Regions from separate parts of the Homo sapiens genome. Here regions 1 and 3 are each linked to region 2. Evidence: promoter capture Hi-C in human tissues and cell types (Jung and others, 2019). All regions are on one chromosome and are shown on one strand. Each heading gives the region's core, a stretch centred on a gene start or on the middle of the fragment in contact. The rest is flanking DNA. Distances are from core to core; before and after follow the strand shown. Region 1 overlaps DDX4 (DEAD-box helicase 4). Region 2 holds the start of SETD9 (SET domain containing 9). Region 3 has its middle 19 kb from the start of PLK2.

Region 1 (4,771 bases), core at 172-2,671, 1.1 Mb after region 2:
GAAAGGAAAAGGTGCCTTTAAAATCATCTCACAGGTATACTTCTACGGCGAGTCAGAGATGTGAGTTAAATCTTCATATATCAAAGTCAACAGACGTTCTGGTTGGTGACATAAAAATACAGGTTGAGCATCCCTAATCCAAAAATTCAAAATCCCAAATGCTCCTAAACCTGAAACCTTGAGCACCAATGTGATGCCTCAGATTGTCCACATGTGACTAAGATAGTGACACCTTAGTTTTCAGACAGCTCAAGGTACACAAACTTTGTTTCATGCACAAAATTACTTAAAATATCAAAACTTATCTTCAAGTTGTATATGAGGTATAATGAAACAAATGAATTTCATGTTTAGGCTTGGGTCCCATCTCCAAGATCTCTCATTATATATTATGCAAATATTCCAAAATCCAAAAAAAAATCTGATATCTGAAACATTTCTGGTCCCGAGCATTTCAGATAAGGGATACTCAACCTGTATATGATGGCAGTGAACAGAAATTGTTAATAATAGCTGATTGTTGGATGTGGAATGGCAATTTGGAAGGGGAGGGGCAGAAAAATATTGCTTTCTATTATAAATGCTTCTATGGCATTTTCTTTTCTAATTTATGCATGTTACTTTGATAATTTTTAAAGAGATGATTCAAACCTATACCTAGAAATGAGGAGAGTAATTAAACATAGGGACATTTACAGTTCATCTGTAATGGTGGTAGATGTATGATACATTTCCTTTCCTTTTTTATATTTGATTCAGTAATGCTACTATGGTAATCTGACAAATCAAGCAAAAGCTTAAAAGGAATCAGTTCAGAGGGAGCAATCTGTTAAAAAAAAAAAAAGCAATGAAAAAAATGAGACAAGACTGGCCTATACTCTTCCTAAACGAAACTAGAAAATTAAGACATACAGATATTACAAATAACAATCCAAACACCTTCATTCATTTAGCCTTTCCCAGAAGTGAGATAACAGAAGAAAAGTGAAATATGTCCCATATTTTTATTAATTGAACTTCCCTTTTTGAGTTTTTCTTGTTGTCAACATTTTTTCTTTTTATTATTATACTCGAAGTTCTAGAGTACATGTGCACAACATGCAGGTTTGTTACATATGTATACATGTGCCATGCTGGTGCCCTTTTTGAGTTTCTATGTTCTTTGTATTCTTCTATTAGTATATCCACATATAAAGAACACTGATAACCACTGTGGTCACAGTAATATTTTTCCTTGTCTACTTTTCACTATTTTTTATGTAGGCAACTAATCTTTCCTTGAGTGATCAAATCTGTTGTTTCTTTTTTGATTTCTGTTCCTTAGCTTAAAGTCAACCCTTCAAAGGGTTAATATTTAACTATTAGCTTTAATATTTTATAATTCACATGAAGTTAATTTTAAATATGGCATGAGGTAGGCATCTACCCAGTTATTCTAACACTATCTGTTGATATGCCTTCCTTTTTCATATGTGATGCCTCATTTATTAACTAAATTCCTATAACAAGATATACATCAGGGACATGTCACTTTGGATTGTTTAGGTGAACAGTAACACTTAATACCAATCATTTTTGTCTCCCCAGTATTTACACCTCACTGGGTCTTAAATATTTGGGTTCGTTCATTTAACAATTAATTAATAACTTCGGGCTGGGTGCGGTGGCTCACGCGTGTAATCCCAGCACTTTGAGAGGTGGAGGCGGGCGGATCACGAGGTCAGGAGTTCGAGACCAGGCTGGCCAACATAGTGAAACCCGTCTCTACTAAAAATTAGCTGGGCATTGTGGCGCGTGTCTGTAATCCCAGCTACTCGGGAGAGGCTGAGGCAGGAGAACTGCTTGAACCCGGGAGGCAGAGGTTGCAGTGAGCCAAGATCACGCCATTACACTCCAGCCTTAGCAACAAGAGCAAGACTCCGTCTCAAAAAAAAAAAGAACTTCATTATTCTAGGCATAGTAAGTTCAAGATATATAATGGAAAATGAAGAAAGACAGGGTTCTTTCATCAATCTTAAAATATGAATCAAAAACTTATGGAAAGAGTAAGCAGCATTGTTTTTTGTTGATAAACGGGTTTGAGTTCTAAGATTGATTTTCATTGCCACATCTGTGCAGTAATGTTTATACATTAATATTTAATTTATGTAAGACTTTGTTCACTGCACTGGTTACGCAAGACACAAAAAAACAGTTTCAAAAATATAGGAGTTTGGGCTAGGATATGCAACAAAGAAAAATTTAAAGTGCTGATGGAAAACTTAAGGGAAAAGTGTTTCATCCTTTATTTCAAGGAAAGATTGTATATTATAAAAATAAACATTGTTATGCCATTGAGTACAGAGCTCCCATCACAAACATTTAACCATTTTCATCATACATCTGATGATCTAAAAATCAAAATCACTTTGAAAGGCTTAAGTATTCTACTTTCTCTTAAAGATTATCACATTATAGTGACACACTACTGTTTTAAAGACTCAAGTAAAAATGAGACCCAGTAATTTTTAACCAAAAGTGTATCATATCCTATTTGCTTGTTTTATAAGATCAATAAACACTATAGTAAGACTTGGCATTTAAACATTAAACATGTCTAAGCCCCCTAAAGAATATACCAGAAATAAGAAAGACATTTAGAATGCTTTAATATTCCCAGTTAACACCATTTGTATCAGTAACTGCAATGTTGTAAGTTTTAGCATCTCACATAACTAGTCAGTAAGGATTTTTTTTTTAAGTGTAGGAGTGAGAATACAAGGACAGGAGCTATGAGAATGTTAAGTTTTATACTTCTGTTAAAAACTCAAAAATCAAAACTATTTTCTTCTCTGCATCAAAACCACAGACTTGAAGGATGTTTTGGCTTTAATCCCATGACTCATCATCTACTGGATTGGGAGCTTGTGAAGAAGAAAACCCAGCTGTGTTCAAAGTGCTCTTGCCCTGGTAATTATTTAAAAAAAAAAAAAAAGAAACAAACAAACATTTAATTTTATGACAGCTTTAAAGTTACATCACTCAGACTGAGAGCAAGGACTCAAAGTATCTACCATGTCTTCCCCAAATAATCAAAGAACTTTATTCTCACTAAATCTGATTCACCTGAAAAAAGGCTCCTGTCAAATGAGGAAATCTAAATTGCACAAAATGTTTCAAGAAAAATATTTTTTAAGTCAATAGTTTTGACAAGTGGGGAAAACTTAATGCACTACACTCAATGAATCAGCATAAATATTTAATTAACATGCTCATTGTTTCTGAATAAAGGCGGTGTTCAGCCTATAAAAACCTGACATACCAGAAAAGACTTGTAGCCTCGTGGCTGGGCGCAGTGGCTCACGCCTGTAATCTCAGCACTTTGGGAGGTTGAAGCAGGTGGATCACTTGAGGCCAGGAGTTTGAGACCAGCCTGGCCAACATGGTGAAACCCTGTCTCTATTAAAAATACAAAAAAAAAAAAAAAAAAAACCAGCTAAGATGGTGGCACATGCCTGTAATCCCAGATACACTGGAGGCTGAGGCATGAGAATTGTTTGAACCTGGGAGGCGGAGGTTGCAGTGAGCCAAGATCATGCCACTGCACTCCAGCCTGGACAACAGAGCCAGACACTATCTCAAAAAAAAAAAAAAAGAAAAGAAAAAGAAAAGACTTGTAACCCCAACAGGTCCTGTATTTTATATTAATTAATGTTGTCAGAATTCAAAAATTAAATAATTCCATCAGAAGTTTAAAAGATTCCAAATTAAAATTTAAAATCTGGGAAAGGAGACTGTTTAGGCATAAATCTCAAAGTTAATTCCTGACCTTTAAAACCAAAAATATGTATATACATAAAATGTTAATGAAATAATAAAGTAGCTACCTTCCAGGCACGAAAACAATGGCTTGATTATTAAATATTATAGTTACTTCACAATATTAAGCACAACATTTACAAAGAGTAACTAGAAGACAAGTTCTCAAGTTTTCCTTTCTACTAACCTTTCTGGTATCAACTGATGCAAACACGTTTCCTCTTGTACTACCACTGAAGCCAGGAATGTATGTACTAAAGGCAATTTCTTCCAACCATGCAGGAACATCCTGTTGAGCCTTTAAAAAAAATTGACTTCATATGCAACATAAAGTATTAAATATTGGAAAAGTTTACTTGTTATATACACATGCATAAAATGTCTACTTTCAACAACAAAGTAAGAAAACTATCCATTCCATCATAAAAGTTTAACTTACATCTGTCAATACTTTTACTAGAGGCTGTGCTAAATGGTTATCCGATTCAAGATCAAAAAAGGAAATTGCTCTGCCAGTATTCCCACAACGACCAGTACGCCCAATTCGATGAACATATTCATCAATGGTAGAAGGAAGATCAAAATTGATAACATGTTGCACATTTTCAATATCCAGCCCTCTGGCAGCTACTGAAGTAGCAACAAGAACTGGGCACTTTCCAAAGCGAAAATCTCCAAGAGCTTGCTCCCGCTCTCTCTGTTCCCGATCACTTGAAAGAAAAGAAAGCATGTTATTAGAACCACTCTTAAAATCATTAAAGTGAATCATTAAAGTTCAACATACAAATTTCTTTTTAATAATAGTATGAATAGCAGCATTTGGCTGGGCGCAGTGGCTCACACCTGTAACCCCAGCACTTTGGGAGGCTGAAGCAGGTGGATCACAAGGTGAGGAGATCGAGACCAGTCTGGCCAACATGATGAAACACCATCTCTATTAAAGATACAAAAAATTAGCTGGGCATGGTGGCAT
Region 2 (4,266 bases), core at 1-2,500:
AGCCAGAGGCAGAAACGAAGTTCAGCTCTTTCCCGTACTACACCCAACAGCCAAGCTGAATGTCATCACAATGAGAATGAATGACCTCACATTCAATGGCTTTTTAAAAATGGCCTTGTAGTTTCAAAGACAAATTCAACATCGTATACTTTGTGACACTCCCTCCAGGACGACTAACGTCTTCAATGACTGCACCTCTTATTTCCATAATCATTATCTTTTTGTACTAACTGCATTATTTTTACTTGAACAAAAAGGTTGTAATTCCCGCCTCACGGTTCCGAGTCATGATACAACTGATCTCCTGTTTCCCTAGCATGCAACCTTCCGGAAACCGCTTTGTTTCCCTATTTGTCGGACACTGACTTCAGGGAGGCCCGGTCGGCCTCTTTGGTGAGCACGGTGTTGAGCTGATCACTGGTGCGCCCTTAATAACGCCGGCGGGACTCACCCCAATCCGAAACCCACCATCCCGACGTGCTTTTGAGTGGCGTTCTGCCCGTTCTTAACGCGCGAGCTACTGCACGCTATTCTCACAGCCGGGATGGGCTTCTTTAACCACGTGAAGTACTTGTATGAACTATGAAAATAAACCCTGGCTTGGCTTTTCTGAGGAAGTTCAAGCACCTAATTAACCCCTGGTGGAGAAAAAGCCACGCACTCTCACGCGGTAAGGGCAGTCTTTTTAAAAAGTTTCCATTTTTGCCCAGATACAAGCTCCCCAGTCAGTGCCGAACGCAACAGGGAAGAACAGGCGACACATCCGGCTGGCGAGCTCGGCCTCGCGGGCCCGGCAGCGCAGCGGACACTGGGAAAGAGGCCATAGGCCCCGCCCACCTGAAGCCACCGCCCACTTCAGGCTTCCAGCGGGCCTCGGACTCCACCAACCTCGGCCCCGCCCGCCTCTGGCCCGCGTTCCTTAAACCCCTCCGAGGCCTCAGTCCCCGCCCACCCGGCCCGCCCACCTCAGTCCCTGCCCACCCGGGCCCGCCCATCTCAGGCCGGCAGTCAGCCTCAGGCTCTCCGCTTTGCGTCCCGCCGCCGTGGTGGCGTCTGGGAACCGAAGGCAGGTGCCCCTCGTTCTGCCGTCCCGCCCTCTCACCTCGGGTTGTGGCTTAGGTTCAGTGCGATCCAGGGAACGAAGCGGTACTTGTAACGGCGCCATCGCTGCCACAGGCCCCGCAGCAGACGGCCAGGCATGGCTGCCCCGCGGGGCCGTGACCAGGACGGCGCGGGGAAGGCGGATCGAGGCCTCGGGCCCGCCCCGGCCCGGGAGGAGAGGGGGCCGCGCTCGGCCGCCTTCCCCTGGCTCCGCTCTCAGTGTTCCTGGCACCGCCTGACTTCTGTTGCTCTGGGGCTTCGTCCTTCCCCTTTCCTGACCTCACCTCTCTGAATGAGAGGCGCGTAGAGCTGGAAGGAGGTCCCCTTGACCACTTTTTCTTTCTCCGGTCGCTCGGGTGCTTCCGTGGGCGCACACAAGCGCTAGCCCTGGTTGCGGGCGAAGGGTCACCGGGCCTCAGGGGCGAACCCGCCCCCGAGACCGCGTCCCAGGAGCGGACCGCCTAGTTTCTCTGTCACGGCTGTCTGGCCTGCCCCTTTGTCCCGGCCGCGCTCTGTGTTCCATCCTCCGTCCACTTGAGCTCTGCCTCTTCCTCGACGTTCTCTCCCCTTCTCTCCGTGGCCCCAGAGCAGCCCGACTTCGGGAACCCGAGTTTCAGTCCTCCCCAGACAGCAGCCCTTCTTCTGCGTGAACCCGTGTTCCCAAAGTTACCAGTTTGGGCGTTTTGCGAATATTTACACGTAAAAAAACAAAGTGTCATGATTCCCTGTTTTCACTCGTTTTTCTCTTCATTGACCCAACCATTCAAAGGCAAAACTACATGGACAAATGTTTCTGAAAAACAGCTTTGTTGAGGAATGGTTGGGATACAATAAACTGCACATATTTAAAGTGAACAATTTGATAGGTTTTCGACACCACAGCCAAGATAGTAATCCAGCCCCTCCCCCAGTCCCCAAGCAACCACTGAGGTGCTTTTGTCCTTTTAATATGGTCTTCGCTTCAATTTGGAAACGTTTTGTCTAGAAGTTCTGCATCTGTGTTCGTGAGAGATATTGTTTCGTAGTTTTCTTGTAGTGTCTTAATCTGGCTTTGGTATTTAGGCTAATGTTGACTTCATAGGATGAGGTGGGAAGTAGTCCCCCATAGGTGAAATTTAAAAGGAACTTTACGACCGCTCCTCCCCAACACCCAGATGCATGCACACGCACACACATATTTAGAACAGGTTTGGACAAAGTTCAGTTTTAAGGGGGGCAAACTACAGGAATCCCTTAACCATATTCAAATCACCAAGTGTTTATTGACAGATAAATACGTTGGTATCATTTCCTCTATTCTTTGCCTGAGAGTGAGGTTGGATCCTAAACTATTGAAATTGAACGGCTCAGATCTAATAAAAACTCAGCCAAGGCCGGGCGCAGTGGCTCACGCCTGTAATCCCAGCACTTTGGGAGGCCGAGGCGGGTGGATCCCCTGAGGTCAGGAGTTCGGGACCAATCTGGCCAACATGGCGAAACCCCGTCTTTACTAAAAAAGAACAAATACAAAAATTAGCCGAGCGTTGGTGGCACGTGCCTGTAGTCCCAGCTACTCAGGAGGCTGAGGCAGAAGAATCGCTTGAACCTGAGAGACGGAGGTTGCAGGGAGCCGAGATCCGCCACTGCACTCCAGCCTGGGTGACAGAGTGAGATCCCGTCTCAAAAAAAAAAAAAATTCAGCCAATCGCCAGTAGCTGCGGGACTAATTTGTTCTATTCTGAAAGAAATAAAGAGAAAGAGTATCTACCAATGTCTCTATTTCGTTCATATCATATAGAATGTTAGCAAACTCTAGAGGCTTTCTCTCAGACTCTGTGTTTGTTTGATAATTTGGCATAATCTAGATTTACCTGACTTGCTAAATGGAGTCAATTCAGTTCCAGGATGTATTAATAAGTGGCATACAAGAAAGTTTCTTTATAGTCTCCAAACTTAACAAAGAACCCAAAAGAACTAGTTTAATCTTTACCTATGGTAATGTACTTGTCTAAAAAAAGAAAAAAATCAGTTTTTGTATATTTTTACAGTTTTTTTATATTTATGGTATTAAAATTAAATTTTGGTTAGCTAAGTAATTAATGAAAACCTTCTTTTTCTAGTTTCTTAAAGTAGGTTATTAGGTCACTAATTTTAATCTTTTCTTCTTTTCTAATGGAAGCATCTAAAGTTATACAAATAGAAACATGGTAGCTAAAGCTCAAGTCACCCTTAACCAAACACCGTACCTTGTACTTCCACCAATCCTGGTACTTGGCGCTTCTCAGAAGTTATCAGACGGGTGTGTTTTCTGCCAGTTTTATTTTTATGTATTTACATACCCGCGTATGTTTTTATAGAAAATACATAGTATTTTGTGTGAGTATTGTTAAAATATTATAAGGATCCACAACTTATTTGATTTCCTCAAAAATACATCTTGAAGATCTACCCATATTGGTTTAAGTCTACTGCATTCTTCTATTTTTGAGGTTTTGCCTTCAAGTTTAATATTTACTGTAGTTTTCTAGTAGGTATGTATACTTTATGAAGTTTTTTAAAGTTCTATTTTTGACTTTCCAAAAATTTTTATTGTTTTAAATTTTAAATGAATGATAAATATCAAATGCTTTTCTCTGCTTATTGAGATGACCATATAGTTTCTATTCATTTATTCATGTAGTGAATGATGACACATTGTCAAATGTTGACCGTCCTTGGATTTCTGACATAACTACTCAGTTATGAGTACCTCTTTGGTCAGATCCTGTAGGTTTTAATATATGCTATTGTCATCCCACATTTATTTTGAAGTATGTTTTAAAATTTTTTAGATAGAATTTGCCTGTGAAAACATCTGGGCTTGTAATTTTCTTTGATAATAAATTCAACTTATTTTAAAGATATAGGGCTATTCATAATGTCCGTTTCATCTTGTGTTGTTTGGTAAGTTATATTTTTATGGAATTTGTTCATTTTGTCTAAGTTGCCAAATATCTTGGTATAAAGTTGTTTATAAATACTGTCTTACTAACCTTTTAATGTCTGTATGATCTGTTGTAATAGCCCATTTTTGTTCCTGATTTTGGTGATTTGTGTTCTCTTCTTCATCATTGTAATTGAGGGTTTGTCAATCTTTTCAAAGAAACAGCTTTTGGCTTTATTACTTTTCCCTGCTTATTTTTTATT
Region 3 (4,935 bases), core at 1,667-4,166, 1.5 Mb before region 2:
CTTACAGTTCTGGAGGCTGGGGAGTCCAAGAGCATGGAGCTAGCATCTGGTGAGAATCTTCATTCTGTGTCATAAGATGCGGAAGGCATCACATGGTGAGAGAGCAAGAGCATGTATATAAGCTCAGGTCTCTCTTCCTCTTCTTTAAAGCAATCAGTTTCATCATGGGGTCCCATCCTGATGACCTTATCTAATCCTAATTACCTCCCAAAGTCCCCACCTCTAATTAACATATGAATTTTAGGTTTCCAACCATGAAATTTGGGGGATGTATTCAAACCATTGCATTGTGGTTCCAGAGCTGTTACATGTTTTATCCACAACCTCACTCAGCAAGAAAATCTCCCTTCTAGAGGGAGAAATTTATGGTGCAGAGATCAACTGGATGGCCAGGTAGCTAAGGTAACTTTGCAATGTAGATATTCCATCTCCAGATCATAAAGAGTGGTTTCCAGTTGCCTTTTGCAAATTTCTATTTTCTTATAATGGCAGAACTGAAATGTTTTAAAATAAATTTTTGTCCATGTCCACTTTGGTTTGCAAAAGGCATTTTGTGTTTAAAAGAGAGCATGTTGGTAGTCCTTTACACTGAACAGGACAGATGTAGAAGCTATAAAGACTTCTTCATAAACCACTTTTGGGGAAGAACCTAACAAACAAAGCATGAGGATATATCACACTGAGTACATTAGAGCAAGACTTTTACACTTGTTCTTTGCCAAAAGGCCAAGAAGTGATTAAAGCAAGATTTTTTAAGTTAAAATTTAATATAGTTGTAGAAGAGTAAGCTTCAATTGATTTACTTTAATGGCATGAAGAAAGGAGTTATTCCTCCTCTATGTCCAAAAGTGACATAGAAACAAAATTTGGTAGGAAAATCAAGAAATCTTAATTGAATAATTTTTAAACAGTTTATTATACAAAATTATAAAGCATAACTTTACAGTTATGCTTTATTCAATTCAACTGAGATGCATCCTTCAATATCCACTACATGGTTTGGAACATGTTAAGCTTGCTATTGATAAAACAGTCCGTTTTTTTTTTTTCTCACAGTACTGAACAGCTGTGTACTGCCAAAGGCACAGTGCATATATACGGATGGTGACTACACAGTTTACCTGGGAAACTCTTAATCATGCCTTGTGTCAGTTAAAAATCTTTGTATTTGGCTGGGATTGGTGGTTTACTGCATAATATCAGCACTTTGGGAGGCTGAGGTGGAAGGTTTGCTTGAGCCTAGAAGTTCAAAACCAGCCTGGGCAACATAGCGAGATGCTGTCTCTCCAAAAAAAAAAAAAAAAAAAAAAAAAAATTACCTGAGTGTGCAACTGGTGTGTCAGGAGCCTGAGGTGAGAGGATTGCTTGAGTCCAGGAGGTGAAGGCTGCAGTGAGCCAAGATCACACCATTTTACTGCAGTTTGGAGGACAGAGAGAGATCCCATCTCAAAAAAAGTATGCATTTCTAAGATGAATTATATGGTTATCCCATGAAATACTCATTGCTATCCCATGTGAGTTTAATGTAGCTAAGATGCATTTAGCATGACCCACTTATGTTACCACACCTTTGATTTCAATTGCTTTTCCTATAAAGGTAGGTTAAATTTTTTTCATGCTATAAGCATTTATGACCTTATTTTTAGGCTTTATTAAGCACAACAGCAGAAAAATGAATTCGGGCTATGTACATTTATTCAGATCCTACTACACATTATATTATTTTTTTACTTTATCTGCTTTGTTGACCACTATGACTGTGGTGGTAAAAATTGTTAATGACAGTCAGTGACACAAGGTACCATCTGGTTTATGAGAATGAAAGAAATGTATTTAAGCAGGATATGGTTTCTCTAATCACCAATCTTTTGCAGACTGACTCATAATCAATTACCTGTCATTTCAACTTGGAAGTATATGGTTTGTTGTATTACATCGCAACGTTATTTCATCCTGGCTTCAGAGAGGAAGGACTGAAATAGAAATATGAAATCTTTGTTTCAAATAAAAGTGATTTGCTACAATTTTGGCAGACATAACTGGAAAAACAATTTGAGAGGAAAAATGAATGAATTTGAAGTGTGCTCTGGCAATAATAGGTCTCATTCATTATAAAATACTTAAAATGTGCTGTGATGTGGTGGTGAAACTCTGACAGAGTTTAAATATAGCCACACTAGCTTCTTTGGTCAATATTAGCTGAAATGCCAATGCTAACTAAACACACAAAGACGTCATAATTATTTATCTAGGAAAGGAAGTTGTAAAATAATGTTCTTCTGGATTCCTAGATACTTCAAAAGAATTTCTCCTTGAACTTAGTAACATTACCAATTTGCTAATACATTTAGAATTGCAATTGAATTGATATATTTTATGGGGTTCCTTGAGAAGTAAAAGTAAGAATGTGCTTTATGCCAGGCATATAACAAGTGGTTTGCTTTAGTGATGTAAATAATACACTAGTGTACTACATCACAATTTAAAATATTCATTTGGTCTTCCCTGATTCTAAGTGGCTTTTCTCTTAGCACTCATGACATAAGAATGGCATATTATGATTTCTTGAAGCCACATTTTAATTTTATTTGTGAGAAAAACAAAAACAGAAATGAAGACTGGGAGCTTTAATAACTTAAAATGAGACTTTCATTGTATGTATTTAAAGATTTCCAAGAATTAATAATCAAAAATATAGTCTTAAGTATCTTTAGGATATGTCAATATATTTATTGAAAATTAAAAAAAAATTGTTATTTTAAAAAATAGCAGATACTATAGGTTGTATCACAGTACCCCAGATTCCTGTAAAGCAGACTCAAGCTCTCATTCTTCTGCTCCATTAGTGAGTTCAGCATTGAAATGCCTAAAGTAACTGATTTTTTTAAAAAAAATCATTTATTTCAGTTACACAGGCAGTGTCTTAATTTCTCTATGTGTTTGAGTGACTTTTTCAGTGAAGCACAATGAGCTTTTCAGAAAAAGTATTACACATCCTGATATTTGACCTAGCACTATTGCTGTAGTACCAGTCTGATACTAAAACACACCAAATGTCTGTAGGGCAAGTTTCTTGTGACCCTGAAGGAATTTCAGGTCAATAAATTAGAGAGAATCTCAACATTTGGTTATATTCTAACATACTGATCCCATTGAAATTATTGTAGATTGTTTTCCAAACATCGTGTGCTTGTTTTTGTGGGCATGAGATGAACAAAAGAACAGTTTCTTGACAGGTTAATGGAAGAATGTTGCTCACTTTATAAAATAAAACAAAACAACACAAAAAACACATCTCTAACCAAAGCATGCAAAATATGACTGGTGCCATGAGGAAGAATCATTTAAGCTAGAACTTCCTGTATTTAAGAAAGTTAACAAAATTGTTTGAGGAATGAACTGGTTTTGTGTGTGTGTGTGTGTGTGTGTGTGTGTGTTAGACACTGCTTATTACAACTAAGTGAAGAACTTTGACAGGTGCTTTGCAGAGTAAAGTTAAAAATTACTTTGCAGAGTAAATATAATTATTTCTTAGAAGACTTTTAGCAGTGTATTAGTTTATTGTCTTCCTTAAAACAAAAGAAGGAAAAGCTAAATGATACTAATTAAATTTAGAAAAAAATTTCCTCCCCGATATAGTTGATAAAGTATAATATTCACAAAAATTCTTATTTGTGAATTTCAGATTCTTTGAGAAAAATGCTTTTGTATCATTTCAAAGTCAACTTTGATAGCCAATAACATCTTTATGGAAAACATTTTATTTGTTCAGGTGCTTTGGACAATCCAACCCAATGTGGAAGTTTGCATTTCTTATCTTAAAATGTCCTCTCAAGAGTTAGCATACCACATCAAATTTAAAAGCCATAGCTGTCTCTGTGGCTTAATGGTTTTATCCCTGCGAACTCTGGCTTGTTGAAGTATTCATTAGGAAGACCTCAGCTGTCTGGCTGCTGTACCTCAGGGACTGTTTGGAGAGCTTACAAACTCTCTAGTTCCCCTGCGCAGAAAGCCTGCCAGCCAGTCTGACTAATGAAGACAGTCAGACTGTCCAGTAAGCCTGTTGTGCCATTGCTGGATTATTTAGCGAAGTGGCGCTTTTAGTGTCCAAGCAAAGCCTGTTTCATCATTTTATGCAATTTTCTTGGCCAGTTTCTATAGAATATGTTGTTACCTGTGCGGAGCAAATGATCAATGTTTATGTCTATAGCTAGAACAAATCAGGTAAAACAAAGCTTCGGTGGACAGTATAAGATAAGGGGATTGTAGCCCTCAGCAGTTGTCTGTAAAACGGTAAGATCTATAAAATTGGAAAGTCTATTTGCTGCATTGGCATTCAAAGTAAAACAGGAAAAATAGTAATAATAATAATACAAATTGTGATGAGTTCAGTGTAGCAAGAATCTTTGATAAAACCATAATTTCAGTTAAAAAGCACATTTAAATGTGTTCAATAAAAGCCTCATATTTCTATTTCTAGAGCATCTCTTTCACAACACTTTAGAAGCATTAGTTCCTTCATTCTAGTGATGGTAGTGGGTGACAAGTATTATCCTCTCCATTTTAAAGACAGAAATTGATCATCAGATAAGCGAACAATTTATTCATCATTGCAGAGTCAGAGGTAAATAGAACCTGGAGACAAAGAATATGAATAAACTGAGTTTATCTCTTTGTTCATTTCATCCATAATTTTTTGAAGAAGACATACTGCCACTAATTCATCTGGAAAAAAAACATAAAGATGAGTCCTCCCAGCAGCTTAGATATTAATTTTTTAGAAGCTTGCCCACAGTTAGAAGGGAAGCATAGGACTGTGGCAAGGGAAGTCTCTGGAAGTCTCCAGAGCTGCTTTGCCACTCACGAGCTGTTTGACCTAAACCAAGTTCTTCCCTGGGTCTGTATCCTCAACTGCAAATCAAGATAATACCACCC

The links. Contacts are between HindIII fragments. The study calls those that stand out against the background at their distance.
Region 1: a contact is called between a fragment that was not itself captured here and the fragment with the promoter of SETD9 in region 2, in 1 of the 25 tissues and cell types used here (spleen).
Region 3: a contact is called between a fragment that was not itself captured here and the fragment with the promoter of SETD9 in region 2, in 1 of the 25 tissues and cell types used here (IMR-90 fibroblasts).

What each region holds. Positions count from the first base shown.
Region 1 is chr5:55,814,638-55,819,408 of GRCh38, reverse strand. DDX4 (DEAD-box helicase 4) reads right to left here. Exons shown (of 22, transcript NM_024415.3): 20 at 4,238-4,508; 21 at 3,986-4,096; 22 at 2,252-2,946. The coding sequence ends at 2,869. Among named protein-coding and RNA genes, the nearest start is that of IL31RA, 34 kb to the left of the region's middle. The HindIII fragment of the contact is 5,399 bases long and covers 1-4,120 here.
Region 2 is chr5:56,906,580-56,910,845 of GRCh38, reverse strand. It overlaps SETD9 (SET domain containing 9), which reads right to left and starts at 1,250. Exons shown (of 6, transcript NM_153706.4): 1 at 1,103-1,250. The coding sequence starts at 1,200. RefSeq lists enhancers at 1-589, 685-734, 1,525-1,614 and silencers at 775-984, 1,165-1,374. The HindIII fragment of the contact is 10,546 bases long and covers 1-4,266 here.
Region 3 is chr5:58,438,345-58,443,279 of GRCh38, reverse strand. No RefSeq gene overlaps it. Among named protein-coding and RNA genes, the nearest start is that of PLK2, 19 kb to the left of the region's middle. The HindIII fragment of the contact is 4,029 bases long and covers 902-4,930 here.